2 separate regions of the Homo sapiens genome follow, and region 2 is linked to region 1. Evidence: promoter capture Hi-C in human tissues and cell types (Jung and others, 2019). All regions are on one chromosome and are shown on one strand. Each heading gives the region's core, a stretch centred on a gene start or on the middle of the fragment in contact. The rest is flanking DNA. Distances are from core to core; before and after follow the strand shown. Region 1 holds the start of CELSR3 (cadherin EGF LAG seven-pass G-type receptor 3). Region 2 holds the start of GNAT1 (G protein subunit alpha transducin 1).

The links. The method cuts DNA at HindIII sites, captures the fragments that hold promoters and counts their contacts. A contact is called where the count stands out against the background at its distance.
Region 2: a contact is called between the fragment with the promoter of GNAT1 here and the fragment with the promoter of CELSR3 in region 1, in 1 of the 25 tissues and cell types used here (aorta).

Annotation. Positions count from the first base shown.
Region 1 is chr3:48,661,028-48,667,626 of GRCh38, forward strand. CELSR3 (cadherin EGF LAG seven-pass G-type receptor 3) reads right to left here and starts at 1,859. Exons shown (of 35, transcript NM_001407.3): 1 at 1-1,859. The coding sequence starts at 1,607. It overlaps LINC02585 (long intergenic non-protein coding RNA 2585), which reads left to right and starts at 2,741. Exons shown (of 3, transcript NR_111921.1): 1 at 2,741-2,786; 2 at 4,614-4,695. RefSeq lists enhancers at 1-168, 169-753, 1,865-2,054, 1,925-2,510, 2,825-3,184 and 2 more. The HindIII fragment of the contact is 20,539 bases long and covers 1-6,599 here.
Region 2 is chr3:50,188,224-50,194,799 of GRCh38, forward strand. GNAT1 (G protein subunit alpha transducin 1) reads left to right here and starts at 3,387. Exons shown (of 9, transcript NM_144499.3): 1 at 3,387-3,608; 2 at 4,910-4,952; 3 at 5,042-5,183; 4 at 5,283-5,440; 5 at 5,530-5,658; 6 at 5,869-5,998; 7 at 6,278-6,431; 8 at 6,542-6,576. The coding sequence starts at 3,503. SEMA3F (semaphorin 3F) reads left to right here. Exons shown (of 19, transcript NM_004186.5): 19 at 1-852. RefSeq lists enhancers at 5,143-5,659, 5,660-6,176, 6,129-6,188, 6,177-6,576 and a silencer at 6,499-6,558. The HindIII fragment of the contact is 7,512 bases long and covers 161-6,576 here.

The DNA.
Region 1 (6,599 bases), core at 609-3,108:
AGCACAGTTATGTGTACGCGCACAGTGGCCGAGCGCGGCCCGGGTTCCTGGCCCTGGTCGCTGGCTTCCACCACCAGCTCATAGCTTTCCATGTGCTCGCGGTCCACTCGGCCGCTGGTGCTGATGAGGCCGGAGCGTGGATCAATCTCGAAGGCGGCGGCAGCTGCAGCGCGCGCAGCTGGCGGCCCCACGAAGCGGTAGCGCAGGTTGGCGTTGGGGGGCGCGTCGCCGTCAGTGGCACGCAGCTGCAGGATAGGGTAGCCCTCCTCCACATTCTCGCGAAGGGTCTCCCGGTACTGCGCTTGCTCAAAAACCGGCGAGTGGTCGTTGCGGTCGGCTACTGTCACGGCCACCATCGTGGTGGCCGAGAGGCGCGGCGACCCGTGGTCCTGCGCGGTCACACGCAGGTAGTGACGCTCCATGCTCTCGCGGTCCAGAGCTGCCGCCGTACGGATAAGGCCGCTCTGCGGGTCGATGCTGAACAGCTCCAGCGAGCGGCTGTTCATGAGTGCCGCCAGCGAGTAGACTAGGCGCCCGGCCTCGCCGGCGTCCGGGTCCTGAGCAACCACGCGTAGCACCGCGGTGCCTGCTGCCTCATTCTCCGGCACCAGCGTCTGGTAGTTGTACTGCGGAAACTGCGGGTGGCGGTTTGCGGCGCGACGAAAGCGTGCCCGGTTCGCCGAGGTTACTTTCCTGGCTTCAGGACGGGCCGGGAGTCCCGGGGGACGCGGCCCGGGGCGCTGCGGGAGGAAGCGGCAGCGGAAGAGACCCCGGGAGCGCATGCGCTTGGGCGCCGGCTCGGGAGCTGTCCGAGACTCGCGGGGTGCTGAACCTGATGCAGGAGCTGTCCTCGCCGTGCGTGGTGCTGAATCCAGCTCGGGGCCAGATCCCGAGGCCCCTGGAAGACAGTTCCGCCGGGGGGCTGTCCTTTCTGCTCCGGATGTCGTGGCTCTCTCGCCCTGACCCTTGCTCCCTGTTGCCCATAATTCCCCACAGCAGCGCGCGGTGCCCACTCTTTTGCGGGAGCCTGTCCCAGCGTTCCGCTGGGAGGACACCGGCTTGGGACCGTGGTGCCGAATCAAAAAGTCTGAAGGGAGGGGCGAGCTGTTCCCCGAGCCCGGGACCCCTGAGGACAGAGCCCCTGGTGACAGACTACCTCTTTGCAAAGGTCCTGTCCGCCCGCAAGAGGAGACCTCTGGGCGCCAGTATAACACAGACCCTGGTCCCTGTCCTGTCTCTCGTTCGCGGCTGCCCAATGGCTGGACGCCGTGTTCAATCCCCAGCTCCTCATTCGGCTGCTCAGGGGGCCCTCGACTATTCCGGGCGCTTTGCCTTCTCCCTCGGAGCCCCACGAAGATAGGCTCCCTGACCCCCAGGCCAGGCCCCCCATCCTCCCGGACCCCGGAAGACTCCGGACAAAGAGCTAAGGCTCCGCCACCGATATGCGCCCTTGGCCCCGTAGTGGCAGCTAAGCCTGGGTCCCAGCCCTGGTGCCCACCGCCCCCCAGCTCCTCCTGGCTGAGGGGGAACAAAGAGAGGAGAAGGAGCAGGAGTATGGGGGTCGACCGTCCCCCGAGGCCCCGCCACGGCGGCCGCCTCGCCATCATCCCCCGCCTCCCTGCACGGCCTCCACCGCCCCCCGCCCCGGTCCGGGCCTTGGGCTGGCCCCGCCGCTCGGGCCCCCTCCCGGGCCCCTGCCGCCGCCCCGGGCCCCCGCCCCTCCGCCTGTCTCTCCGCACCCCCGCCGCCCTCTGGGCACCATCTACTCCGCGGCCGGAGCCCCTCCGGCGTGCGGCCCTGGCTTTTTCCGCCCCCACCACAGCATCCCCGACGCTGCTGCCGCCTCCCGCCGCTCCAACATGGCTCCCGGCCGCCCCGATGGTTCGCTCCACCTCTGCCCCGGCGCCCGAAACACGGTGGTACAACCCATCGCGCATGGCAGCTCTGAGGACCGAAGATGTTGCCGCCATCTTTATTGAGGACGTGAGCGTTGCTCCTGGTGCTGAACAGAGCGCGAAGGTTCGCCGTCGTTGGGTCCGCCCTCCCCACTTTCGGTCGCCGCCTTCACCCACCTCCCTCCTTCTAGGGCGCTGTCCCAGCTCCGTCTCCCAGCCTTTTTCTGTCCTTCCAGATCTCTTGTTCCCCCTTCCTGACCACTAGTTCTGAACCGTGTCCCGGATTTTGGTCTGAAATTTTGGTGCCCATGAGCGTTCTCATAGCTCTGGGAGGGGGTACTGTGTGAAATCCTGGGGTAGAGGGGACGATGGCTGGAGAGGGGTCTGGGGTGCCAGCACCCCGAACAATAGCTTTAACTATCCCATCAGCTAGTTTTATGAAACATGTCGCGACCACCTGCTTGTTTGGATCGCCCCTGCGGAGCAGGGACCAGAGATGACCCTCCCGAGGCGGGAGCAGAGGCCAAATTCTTCCCTGCCTTGCTGGTCCCCAGCAGTCTCCCGGGCTCGGGGCCCCTTCACTGGAGGCTGCACCCCCTCCCAGGCTGCGAGTCCCGAGTGCTCTGGGATGCCACGTGGAGCCCGGCGTTGCCCCATGGCTGCGGGCCCCGCTTCTTCGGGTCCCCGCCCCTCGTCCGTCACGACCGCATGCCTTAACCCCTTGAAGGGACTGACACAGAAACTCAGTCCTCCCCCCACCCTCGGTGCATTCCAGCTCTCCCTGCGTAACTCCTGGCACGCGCCGGTCTCGCCAGGCCAATGGGTGGACCTGGCGCAACAGACGTCACGAGAGGAGCGGAGGCGAGGGGTGAACGCGGAGCACTCCAATCGGTCAGTCATTGTTTCTATTGGCACAATGGGAGGCCCCGCCCCTCACGGCGGACTCATCGCATGGGGGAGGGGGCTCCGCGGGTTGCCGGCTAACCGTGAGAGAGTCCGGGAGGTACACTATACGGACCGGCCTCCAAAGGCGGAATCGATAACGAGCTGCAGCGCCGGGTGCAGAGGACGCGGGCATCCCGAAGCCCAGGAAGAGGTCAGGGCCGGGACCCCAGAACGCTCCACAGGGTGCGGCTCCCGCGATGGGGTGGATCCTGGTTCTAACAGGCGAGGAACTCCTGGCCAAGGCCTCTGGCCCGCCCCGAACGGTCCCTATGACATCACCATCAACCAATCAGTCGGCGCATCCTTTCGCCCCTTGACTGCTCCGCTTCCGGGAGGCGGGGCTTCTGCGGGTTCCACCTCCCGAGCGCCCCTTGTGGCTACCAAGGTCAGGCAACAGGTGTCCAGTTGTTCCCTCTCCTGTCTACGAATCTGAGGACCTCCCCAGGATCAGAGCTCTGGGCCTGATACACGGCCGGGGTTCCTACGGGTTTGTGAGTGGGGGTGGAAGATCTGCAGAGGCACTTAGGGCTGAACTCCTTTGAATGGGAGCCAATCGGTGCAGGGGCTGGAGGAGCGAGTCCCCCAAAGTAGTTTTATTTATCTATTTAGAGACAAGGTCTCACTCTTTCGGAGTGCAGTGGTGATCACAGCTCACCGTAGCCTCGAACTCCCCAGGCGATTCTCTCACCTCAGCCTCCCGAGTAGCTGGGACTACGGGTACATGTCATCACACTTGGCTAATTTTTGCATTTTTTATAGAGACAGGGTCTCACCATGTAGGCCAGATTAGTCTTGAACTCCTGGGCTCAAGCAATCCGCCCATCTTGGCCTCCCAAAGTGCTGGGATTATAGGTGTGAGCCACCGCGCCCGGCAACCCAGAAGTGGTTTTGACAGCACCAGCGCTTTCTGTGTCCACAATCTAGTGAGTAGAGGGCACAAAACCTGACACCACGGAGGCAGACAGGCAGGGGCTCTGCCGGGGAAGGGTGTTGGAGTCCCAAAGGAGGCGTCTGAGTCACCTTCGCAACCTGGGACGCCTTCTTGCATAAGATGCCTGAGCAGTGCCTTGAATGACCAAGGGGAGATCCGCATCTGCAAAGGAAGGGCAGGGAGGGATAGGGATTGGGGGTGGGCATCCTAGGTCTTGGAGACTGTGTGGGCAAATGTGCAGAGACATAAAGGGACTATGGCTGAGGGAAATCAAGCCCTGCCCTCTCACCAATAGGGCTGGCGCTGGTCCCAGCTAACACTCCTTTTGGAGAGCAAAGCTCCTCACTTCTGAGTAGTGAGATTGATTGCGGATCACTCTCCATGTTGCTGCCTGCTGTGTGTCATCCCACTGTCATCCTCCCTTTGTGGCTGTTCTGTGGAGCCCCTCTCCCTCAATCTGCACTCACCTCTATGCCCCAGCCCCATTGGCAGCTCCTAATGCACTCCCGGTAAAAAAAAAAAAACAAAAACCAGATGTTAGTGATAGTGGTGGTAGTTCTTCTCTCCACCTCCAAATCTTGCCCTTGCCTCCTAATAAGACCCCTATGTGGTTTAACCTCATTTTTTTTTTTTTTTTTTTTTTTTGAGATGGAGTTTCACTCTGTCACCCAGGCTGGAGTGAAGTGGTGTGATGGGGCTTCACCATGTGATGGGGCTTCACCATGTTGGCCAGGCTGGTATCAAACTCCTGACCTCTAGTGATCTGCCCGCCTCAGCCTCCCAAAGTGCTGGGATTACCGGCATGAGGCACCGTGCCCAGCCTATCCTCCTTCTCTTATCAGCTCCCAACTAGAGGTCCACCCAGGACCCAGAGACCTGGATTTGAGGCTGCTGGGCGGCAGATGGAGCGATCAGAAGACCAGGGTAAGGGTGTGGCAGATACTGCCACTAACACTTCTCAGCCTTTCCTTCTCCTGCCTTTTCCACCCCACCCTGTGTTTGTCTACTCCCAGCCAGGTGTACCTTTCCAGGGGAAGACCTGGCCAACCTGTCCAGCTCAATTATCCAGCAGTTCTTTGACCTCACTGAGATCTCGAGTCCATTGTTCATCACCTCAGCTATTGACCTGTGTCATTAGCCTTATAGAGTTCAGTGCCACGGAAACTCCCTGCCCTGTTCTTTTTCTTTTTCTTTTTTTTTTTTTTTTTGAGACAGAGCCTTGCTCTGTCGCCCAGGCTGGAGTGCAGTGGCGCGATCTCGGCTCACTGCAAGCTCTGCCTCCCAGGTTCACACCATTCTCCTGACTCAGCCTCCCGAGTAGCTGGGACTACAGGCGTCCACCACCATGCCCAGCTAATTTTTTTTTTTGTATTTTTAGTAGAGACGGCGTTTCACCGTGTTAGCCAGGCTGGTCTCGATCTCCTGACCTTGTGATGCTCCCGCCTCGGCCTCCCAAAGTGCTGGGATTACAGGCATGAGCCATTGTGCCCGGCCTGCCCTGTTCTTCTTAGACAAACTTGCTGGGCTAAAATCTAACCCCGTTAAAATAGACTATTTACGTATTGTTTGCCTCTAGCGCAGCAGAACATTGCTGGAGAAAAACAAACAACCGTGCTAATTGGTCTCATTTTATATTCATGACCACAAGCCTCAGTATTATATCGGAGGGCCTATCCAGTGCAGTAGGGCAAGAAAAATAATAAGTTATGAAGATTGGAAGGGAAAAAAAACTAATTCACAAGCAGTAGGATTGTATATGTAAAAATTTCAAAGGAACCTATAGGTAAGTTGTTAGAATGAGTTCAGCAAAGTTGTTGGACACAAGATCAATATATAAAAATCAGTTGCAATTTCTATATGTCACCAACAGTTAGAAAATAAATTTCTTGCCTGGGCATGTTGGCTCAAGCCTGTAATCCCAGCACTTTGGGTGGCCAAGGCGGGCAGATCACCTGAGGTCAGGAGTTTGAGACCAGTTTGGCCAACATGGTGAAATCCCGTCTCTACTAAAAATACAGAAATTAGCCGGGCGTGGTGGTGGGCACCTGTAGTCCCAGCTACTGAGGAGGCTGAGGCAGGAGAATCACTTGAACCTGGGAGGCAGAGGTTGCAGTGAACGAGAAAAAAAAATTTTTTTTCTTAAAAACAATGATGTTTACAATAGCATCAAGTAATATCAAATGCTGAGGAATAAACCTAATGAAAGATGTGCAAAGACTACATACACACATACAAAAAAACTATAAAACATTATTGAGGGAAATAAAGACATAGGCCTGGCATTGGTGGCTCATGCCTGAAATCTCAGCACTTTGGAGGGCCAAGGTGGGTGGATCATTTGAGGTCAGGAGTTAGAGATCAGTCCGGCCAACATGGTGAAACCTCATCTCTACTAAAAATACAAAAAAATTAGCTTGGCCAGGTGCAGTGGCTCACACCTGTAATCCCAGCACTTTGGGAGGCTGAGGCGGGCGGATCATGAGGTCAGGAGATCGAGACCATCCTGGCTAACACGGTGAAACCCTGTCTCTACTAAAAATACAAAAAAAAATTAGCCGGGCCTGATGGCGGGCGCCCGTAGTCCCAGCTACTCGGGAGGCTGAGGTAGCAGAATGGCGTGAACCTGGGAGGTGCAGCTTGCAGTGAGCCTAAATTGCGCCACTGCACTCCAGCCTGGGTAACAGAGCGAGACTCCGTTTCAAAAAAAAAAAAAAAAATTAGCTGGGCATGCTGTTGTGCACCTGCAATCCCAGCTACTCTGGAGGATGAGGCAGAAGTGCCTGAACCTGGGACACAGAGGTTGCAGTGAGCCAAGATCATGCCATTGC
Region 2 (6,576 bases), core at 2,137-4,636, 1.5 Mb after region 1:
CTGCCCCTGCAAAGACAGTATTTATTGGTGGGTTGAATATAGCCTGCCTCAGTGGCAGCATCCTCCAAAACTTAGACCCATGCTGGTCAGAGACGGCAGAAAACAGAGCCTGCCTAACCAGGCCCAGCCAGTTGGTGGGGCCAGGCCAGGACCACACAGTCCCCAGACTCAGCTGGAAGTCTACCTGCTGGACAGCCTCCGCCAAGATCTACAGGACAAAGGGAGGGAGCAAGCCCTACTCGGATGGGGCACGGACTGTCCACCTTTTCTGATGTGTGTTGTCAGCCTGTGCTGTGGCATAGACATGGATGCGAGGACCACTTTGGAGACTGGGGTGGCCTCAAGAGCACACAGAGAAGGGAAGAAGGGGCCATCACAGGATGCCAGCCCCTGCCTGGGTTGGGGGCACTCAGCCACGACCAGCCCCTTCCTGGGTATTTATTCTCTATTTATTGGGGATAGGAGAAGAGGCATCCTGCCTGGGTGGGACAGCCTCTTCAGCCCCTTCTCCCCTCCCCGCCTGGCCAGGGCAGGGCCACCCCACTCTACCTCCTTAGCTTTCCCTGTGCCACTTTGACTCAGAGGCTGGGAGCATAGCAGAGGGGCCAGGCCCAGGCAGAGCTGACGGGAGGCCCCAGCTCTGAGGGGAGGGGGTCCGTGGTAGAGGCCTGGGGCCGGTAGAGGCTCCCCAGGGCTCCCTTATGTCCACCACTTCAGGGGATGGGTGTGGATGTAATTAGCTCTGGGGGGCAGTTGGGTAGATGGGTGGGGGCTCCTGGTGGCCTTCTGCTGCCCAGGCCACAGCCGCCTTTGGGTTCCATCTTGCTAATAAACACTGGCTCTGGGACTAGACTTTGGCTTCTCTCCTTGGTCAGGGGATTTAGAGCCACACGTGGTGGGCCTGGGGAGCCAGGTGGGGGGCTGGGAAGGGAGTAGATTGGCTCCATTTAAAGAAACCCAACATGTAGAAACCACATTTAGTTTGACAAACCTGGGCTGCTGCACCACCCCAAACACTTGGGTAGTGCGAAGGGCTGTAGAGACCCCTCAGGGCCCACTCACTCCTCAGGGTCAGGGAGGGTGGGTGGAGCCTGAAGGCTGAAAGTGGCAGAAATGCAACGGCCTCACTCCTGGACAGATCCCCATCATCCAACAGGGTGGGTGTAGAAGCTGCCAGCCTGTGGTAGGAGCCAGCATTCACTTCCCACGCATACTATTTAGAGACAGCCGTTAGTGCTCAGTGTCTGGTGCCCCGGCACCCCCTTGTGGTCTCTTGAGTCTGTGGCAGAGTTGAGTGCTGAAAGGCAGCCAGGTTCCAGGGAAGAGTCCAGCCAGGAGGCTCAGGGTGCCTGGAGGAGCCTTTGAGAGCCCAAGATTTGGGTTTTCCTATGGAAGTTGAGGGTGGGAAGTCTCTAGAACCTGGGAGCTCAACCTGAACAATTTCTGCCCGGCAGTGAGCCCTGCACCTGAACAGAGCACCAGACCCCCTAAGCTGAGGCAGGCAGGCCCTGGAGATAATCTTAGGCAGGCCTCAGAGCACCCACAGCAGACAGAGCAGGAGCAGGATAGGTGAGCCCCATTCCTCCATACCCCAGGGAACACTACACCTGCTCTGGGATGCAATTTCTCCACCTGGCAACAGGCCTGCAAAACATTCTCTGGAAGAGCCTGGCCACTTCTGCAGATTAGAGACTTTGTTGCACCCAAATTCAAGTGTACATATAGGCACAGGCGCCTGCAAGCATGCATGCACACACACAGTCATACACAGGCAGAGATGGACATGCACAGGCACACATATGCTCAGGTACAAACAGGCATGTTTACACCCCTGCGTATAAGCAAGTGCACACATGCAAACCTACACAAACTGCAAAACACACAAGCCTATGTGTGCATGAAGAGAATACACAAAGCATATTCACACATGCATACACATGTGTATACATGTGCACACATACATAAGCATGCGCACAGGCACGTGATTCCTATAAGAGCACATGCACTCACAAAGGCATAAACATGCAGGCACACATGTACACACAGGTATTCATGCACAAATGTGTCAAGTTATTGCTCGCTTGGTGCCAGCAAAAGACACACCCATGGCCGGGCGAGGTGGCTCACACCTGAATCCCAGCACTTTGGGAGGCCGAGGTGGGTGGATCACAAGGTCAGGAGATCGAGACCATCCTGACCAACATGGTGAAACCCCGTCTCTACTAAAAATACACAAAAAATTAGCTGGGTATGGTGGCACATGCCCGTAATCCCAGCTACTTGGGAGGCTGAGGTGGGAGAAGCTTAAACCAGGGAGTTGAAGGTTGCAGTGAGCCAAGATCGTGTCACAGCACTCAAGCCTGGCAACAGAGTGAAACTCTGTCTCAAAAAAAAAAAAAAAAAAAAAAAAAAAAGGCCAGGCACGGTGGCTCATGCCTGTAATCCCAGCACTTTGGGAGGCCGAGGCGGGCAGATCACGAGGTCAGGAGACTGAGACCATCCTGGCTAACACGGTGAAACCCTGTCTTTACTAAAATACAAAAAAAGTAGCCCGACGTAGTGGCGGGCACCTGTTGTCCCAGCTACTCAGGAGGCTGAGGCAGGAGAATGGCGTGAACCTGGGAGGTGGAGCTTGCAGTGAGCTGAGATTGCGCCACTGCACTCCAGCCTGAGCAACAGAGCGAGACTCCATCTCAGAAAAAAAAAAAAAAAAGACACATACACCGAGGCACACAGAGCAGATATGCATGCCCACCACAGTCCGCTGGAAGCAGAGGACCTCCTTGGGGCAGCTCCAGCCTGTGATATGGGATGAATGCAATGCCCACTGTTTCCCTCTCTCTGGATTCCCTGCAGGTCATAAAATCCCAGTCCAGAGTCACCAGCCCTTCTTAACCACTTCCTACTGTGTGACCCTTTCAGCCTTTACTTCCTCATCAGTAAAATGAGGCTGATGATATGGGCATCCATACTCCAGGGCCAGTGTGAGCTTACAACAAGATAAGGAGTGGTGCTGAGCCTGGTGCCGGGCAGGCAGCAGGCATGTTTCTCCCAATTATGCCCTCTCACTGCCAGCCCCACCTCCATTGTCCTCACCCCCAGGGCTCAAGGTTCTGCCTTCCCCTTTCTCAGCCCTGACCCTACTGAACATGTCTCCCCACTCCCAGGCAGTGCCAGGGCCTCTCCTGGAGGGTTGCGGGGACAGAAGGACAGCCGGAGTGCAGAGTCAGCGGTTGAGGGATTGGGGCTATGCCAGCCCGATTAGAAGGGTTGGGGGGGCTGAGCTGGATTCACCTGTCCTTGTCTCTGATTGGCTCTTGGACACCCCTAGCCCCCAAATCCCACTAAGCAGCCCCACCAGGGATTGCACAGGTCCGTAGAGAGCCAGTTGATTGCAGGTCCTCCTGGGGCCAGAAGGGTGCCTGGGAGGCCAGGTTCTGGGGATCCCCTCCATCCAGAAGAACCACCTGCTCACTCTGTCCCTTCGCCTGCTGCTGGGACCATGGGGGCTGGGGCCAGTGCTGAGGAGAAGCACTCCAGGGAGCTGGAAAAGAAGCTGAAAGAGGACGCTGAGAAGGATGCTCGAACCGTGAAGCTGCTGCTTCTGGGTAGGGGTGTGGGCCCAGGTGGGGCCACTGCCACCAGGTCATTGGTCTGGAGGCAGGCAGGCAGCCCTTCTGTGAAGCAAGGATTCCCTGGGAAGCAGTATGAGCCTGTGACAGAGTAGGGCACAGGGTGGGAGCCCTGGCCAAGCAAGGCCAGGCCTGACAGGTGGTGTCCTAGTCCCCCAGGGCTGGACATCCCACAAAGCCCCTCTCCAGACGGCTCTGCCTCAGGTGACCCACCCTCCCCAGAAGTGCGTGCCAACCACACTCTTGCACGGGTGTGTGATGCCGACTTTTCCGTGGCTGGGTTCCCGCAAGCTTCATGCAGCCTTTGGTTTGATACGCCTGCTAGGCAATGCTCAGAAGCCAGGAGCCTCACTGGGAGCCCGTTATTGGGCTGCTACTTTGGGAAGGGGATGGCCATAGTCCTCCTGGGAGTGGGGAGCCTCTAGGACCACCCAGATCCACAACGAATGGCCCTCAGGTGCCAGAGGGCTGTGGCTGATAGACCTACAAAGCAGCCAGAGGGGCTGGCGGGTACTGAGGCCCAGTGGGAGTAGATAAAGCCGCGTCCACTGGACCATGGGCACTGAGGAGAGATGGGGCTGATCCAGGCCTGCCTCAAGGTCACTGCCTGACCTCTCAAGGGGAAAAAGCAGCTTCAAGAGGGGCTCCACCCAAGCTCCCCAGGGTCTGGTCAACCAGCTGGAGGTGGGTGAGGGACCAAGCCAGTCCCACTTTCCCCCAAGGCAGAGAGGCTAAGCCGGAAATCTCATTAACTGTGCCCAACGCCCTCGCAGGGGCAAGCTCAGAAAGGATGTCAACTCTGCCCTCCCTCCTACCCAAAAGAGCTAATTCCCTCTGAGCCTCCTGGAGACACCTGCACCCCTTCAGGTGAAATGCAAGGGGTTTACCCGCCTCAAATAACCCAGTGCTTGCGGTACCAGAGGCTCCCACGAGGTGGCGATGACGCTCCGGGATTTCTTCATTGCAGTCTCACAGCATAATAAAGGCTGCCTGTGCCGGGGTCTTGGGGACTCCCCTGTCCCAGAACAGTTGAGGTCGTTGAGTCCCCTCGTTGGCTTCCTTTCTTCACTTTCCTGGCATTTGCAAACCTTGTGACTTCAGGATGTCAGGACTTAATTTGGATGGGGGGGTAGGTGTGGCTACGGGGTCGGGGCTGGCGCTCAGGCCTCTTCGCTGCGGGTCCACCCTGCCAACTCGGGAGGTCCCCGTCCTCCTGGCCTCCTTGCTGGAGGGGGCAGGCTGGTCAGCGCAGCTCTGAGGCGCCGCGTCTCTTTCAGGTGCCGGTGAGTCCGGGAAGAGCACCATCGTCAAGCAGATGAAGTGAGTGCCCCTGCCTGTCCCGAGGCCCCTGGGTCTGGGTCCTTCCCCACTTCCCCACGAGGCGCTGATTCTGCTCTCCTCGGCCTCAGGATTATCCACCAGGACGGGTACTCGCTGGAAGAGTGCCTCGAGTTTATCGCCATCATCTACGGCAACACGTTGCAGTCCATCCTGGCCATCGTACGCGCCATGACCACACTCAACATCCAGTACGGAGACTCTGCACGCCAGGTGTGCCAGGAGGCGGGCTGAGCGGGCCTCTGGGGACTCGAGGCTCGCGGCTGGGCCCGAGTCCCTGGCCGCCACCAGCCACTCTCACCCTGCCCCCAGGACGACGCCCGGAAGCTGATGCACATGGCAGACACTATCGAGGAGGGCACGATGCCCAAGGAGATGTCGGACATCATCCAGCGGCTGTGGAAGGACTCCGGTATCCAGGCCTGTTTTGAGCGCGCCTCGGAGTACCAGCTCAACGACTCGGCGGGCTAGTGAGCGCGCGGGCAGCGCGGGGCGCGGGGCGCGGGGCGCAGGGGGCCCTCCACGCCTCCCCACCCACCTACGGCCGGGTCTCGCGCAGCTACCTCTCCGACCTGGAGCGCCTGGTAACCCCGGGCTACGTGCCCACCGAGCAGGACGTGCTGCGCTCGCGAGTCAAGACCACTGGCATCATCGAGACGCAGTTCTCCTTCAAGGATCTCAACTTCCGGTACGACCCATACGCTAGCCCAGGAGGTCACTGCCCCAGGCCCCGTCCTGCCCCGGGGACCCCATCCCTGCGATAGACCCTGCCCCTTCCCTGATACCCCGCCAGCAGAAAGGGTGGTAGTCCCGGCCGAGAGCTCCCCGACCAGCACAGGGCGAAGGGATGTTGCCTGTGGGGCCCGGGGCGCAGGTTCAGGCCCCCGCGGCCCCGCAGGATGTTCGATGTGGGCGGGCAGCGCTCGGAGCGCAAGAAGTGGATCCACTGCTTCGAGGGCGTGACCTGCATCATCTTCATCGCGGCGCTGAGCGCCTACGACATGGTGCTAGTGGAGGACGACGAAGTGGTGCGTGCCAGGCAGGGCCTGTGTTCCAGGGGGGCGAGGAGGAGCTGCTGGTCCCTGGAGGCGGAGACCGCGCGCTGGGCTGGGGGAGGGCACGGGAGGGGATGCCTGTCCCGGGCGGCCTGAGGAGGCCCGGAGGCGTTCAGCAGGCCCATCTGGGGCAGTGCGGGGAGCCCTCTGAGAGCCAGCTGAGCGGGAAGCCCCGCGTGCCCGGGAGCCCAGAGAGCAGGTGCTGCGGGTCGGACGCTACCCCGGGTGCCCAACAGCTGCTGCCCTCCTCAGAACCGCATGCACGAGAGCCTGCACCTGTTCAACAGCATCTGCAACCACCGCTACTTCGCCACGACGTCCATCGTGCTCTTCCTTAACAAGAAGGACGTCTTCTTCGAGAAGATCAAGAAGGCGCACCTCAGCATCTGTTTCCCGGACTACGATGGTGAGAAGTCCGCAAGGCCGCCAGGCGGCGCCCCCGCCCCACGATCGCGGCGCGCACCCCCCGCACGGGGAAGGAAGGGCTGAGCAGAGTGAGAGCTCCCGCCCCCGCAGGACCCAACACCTACGAGGACGCCGGCAACTACATC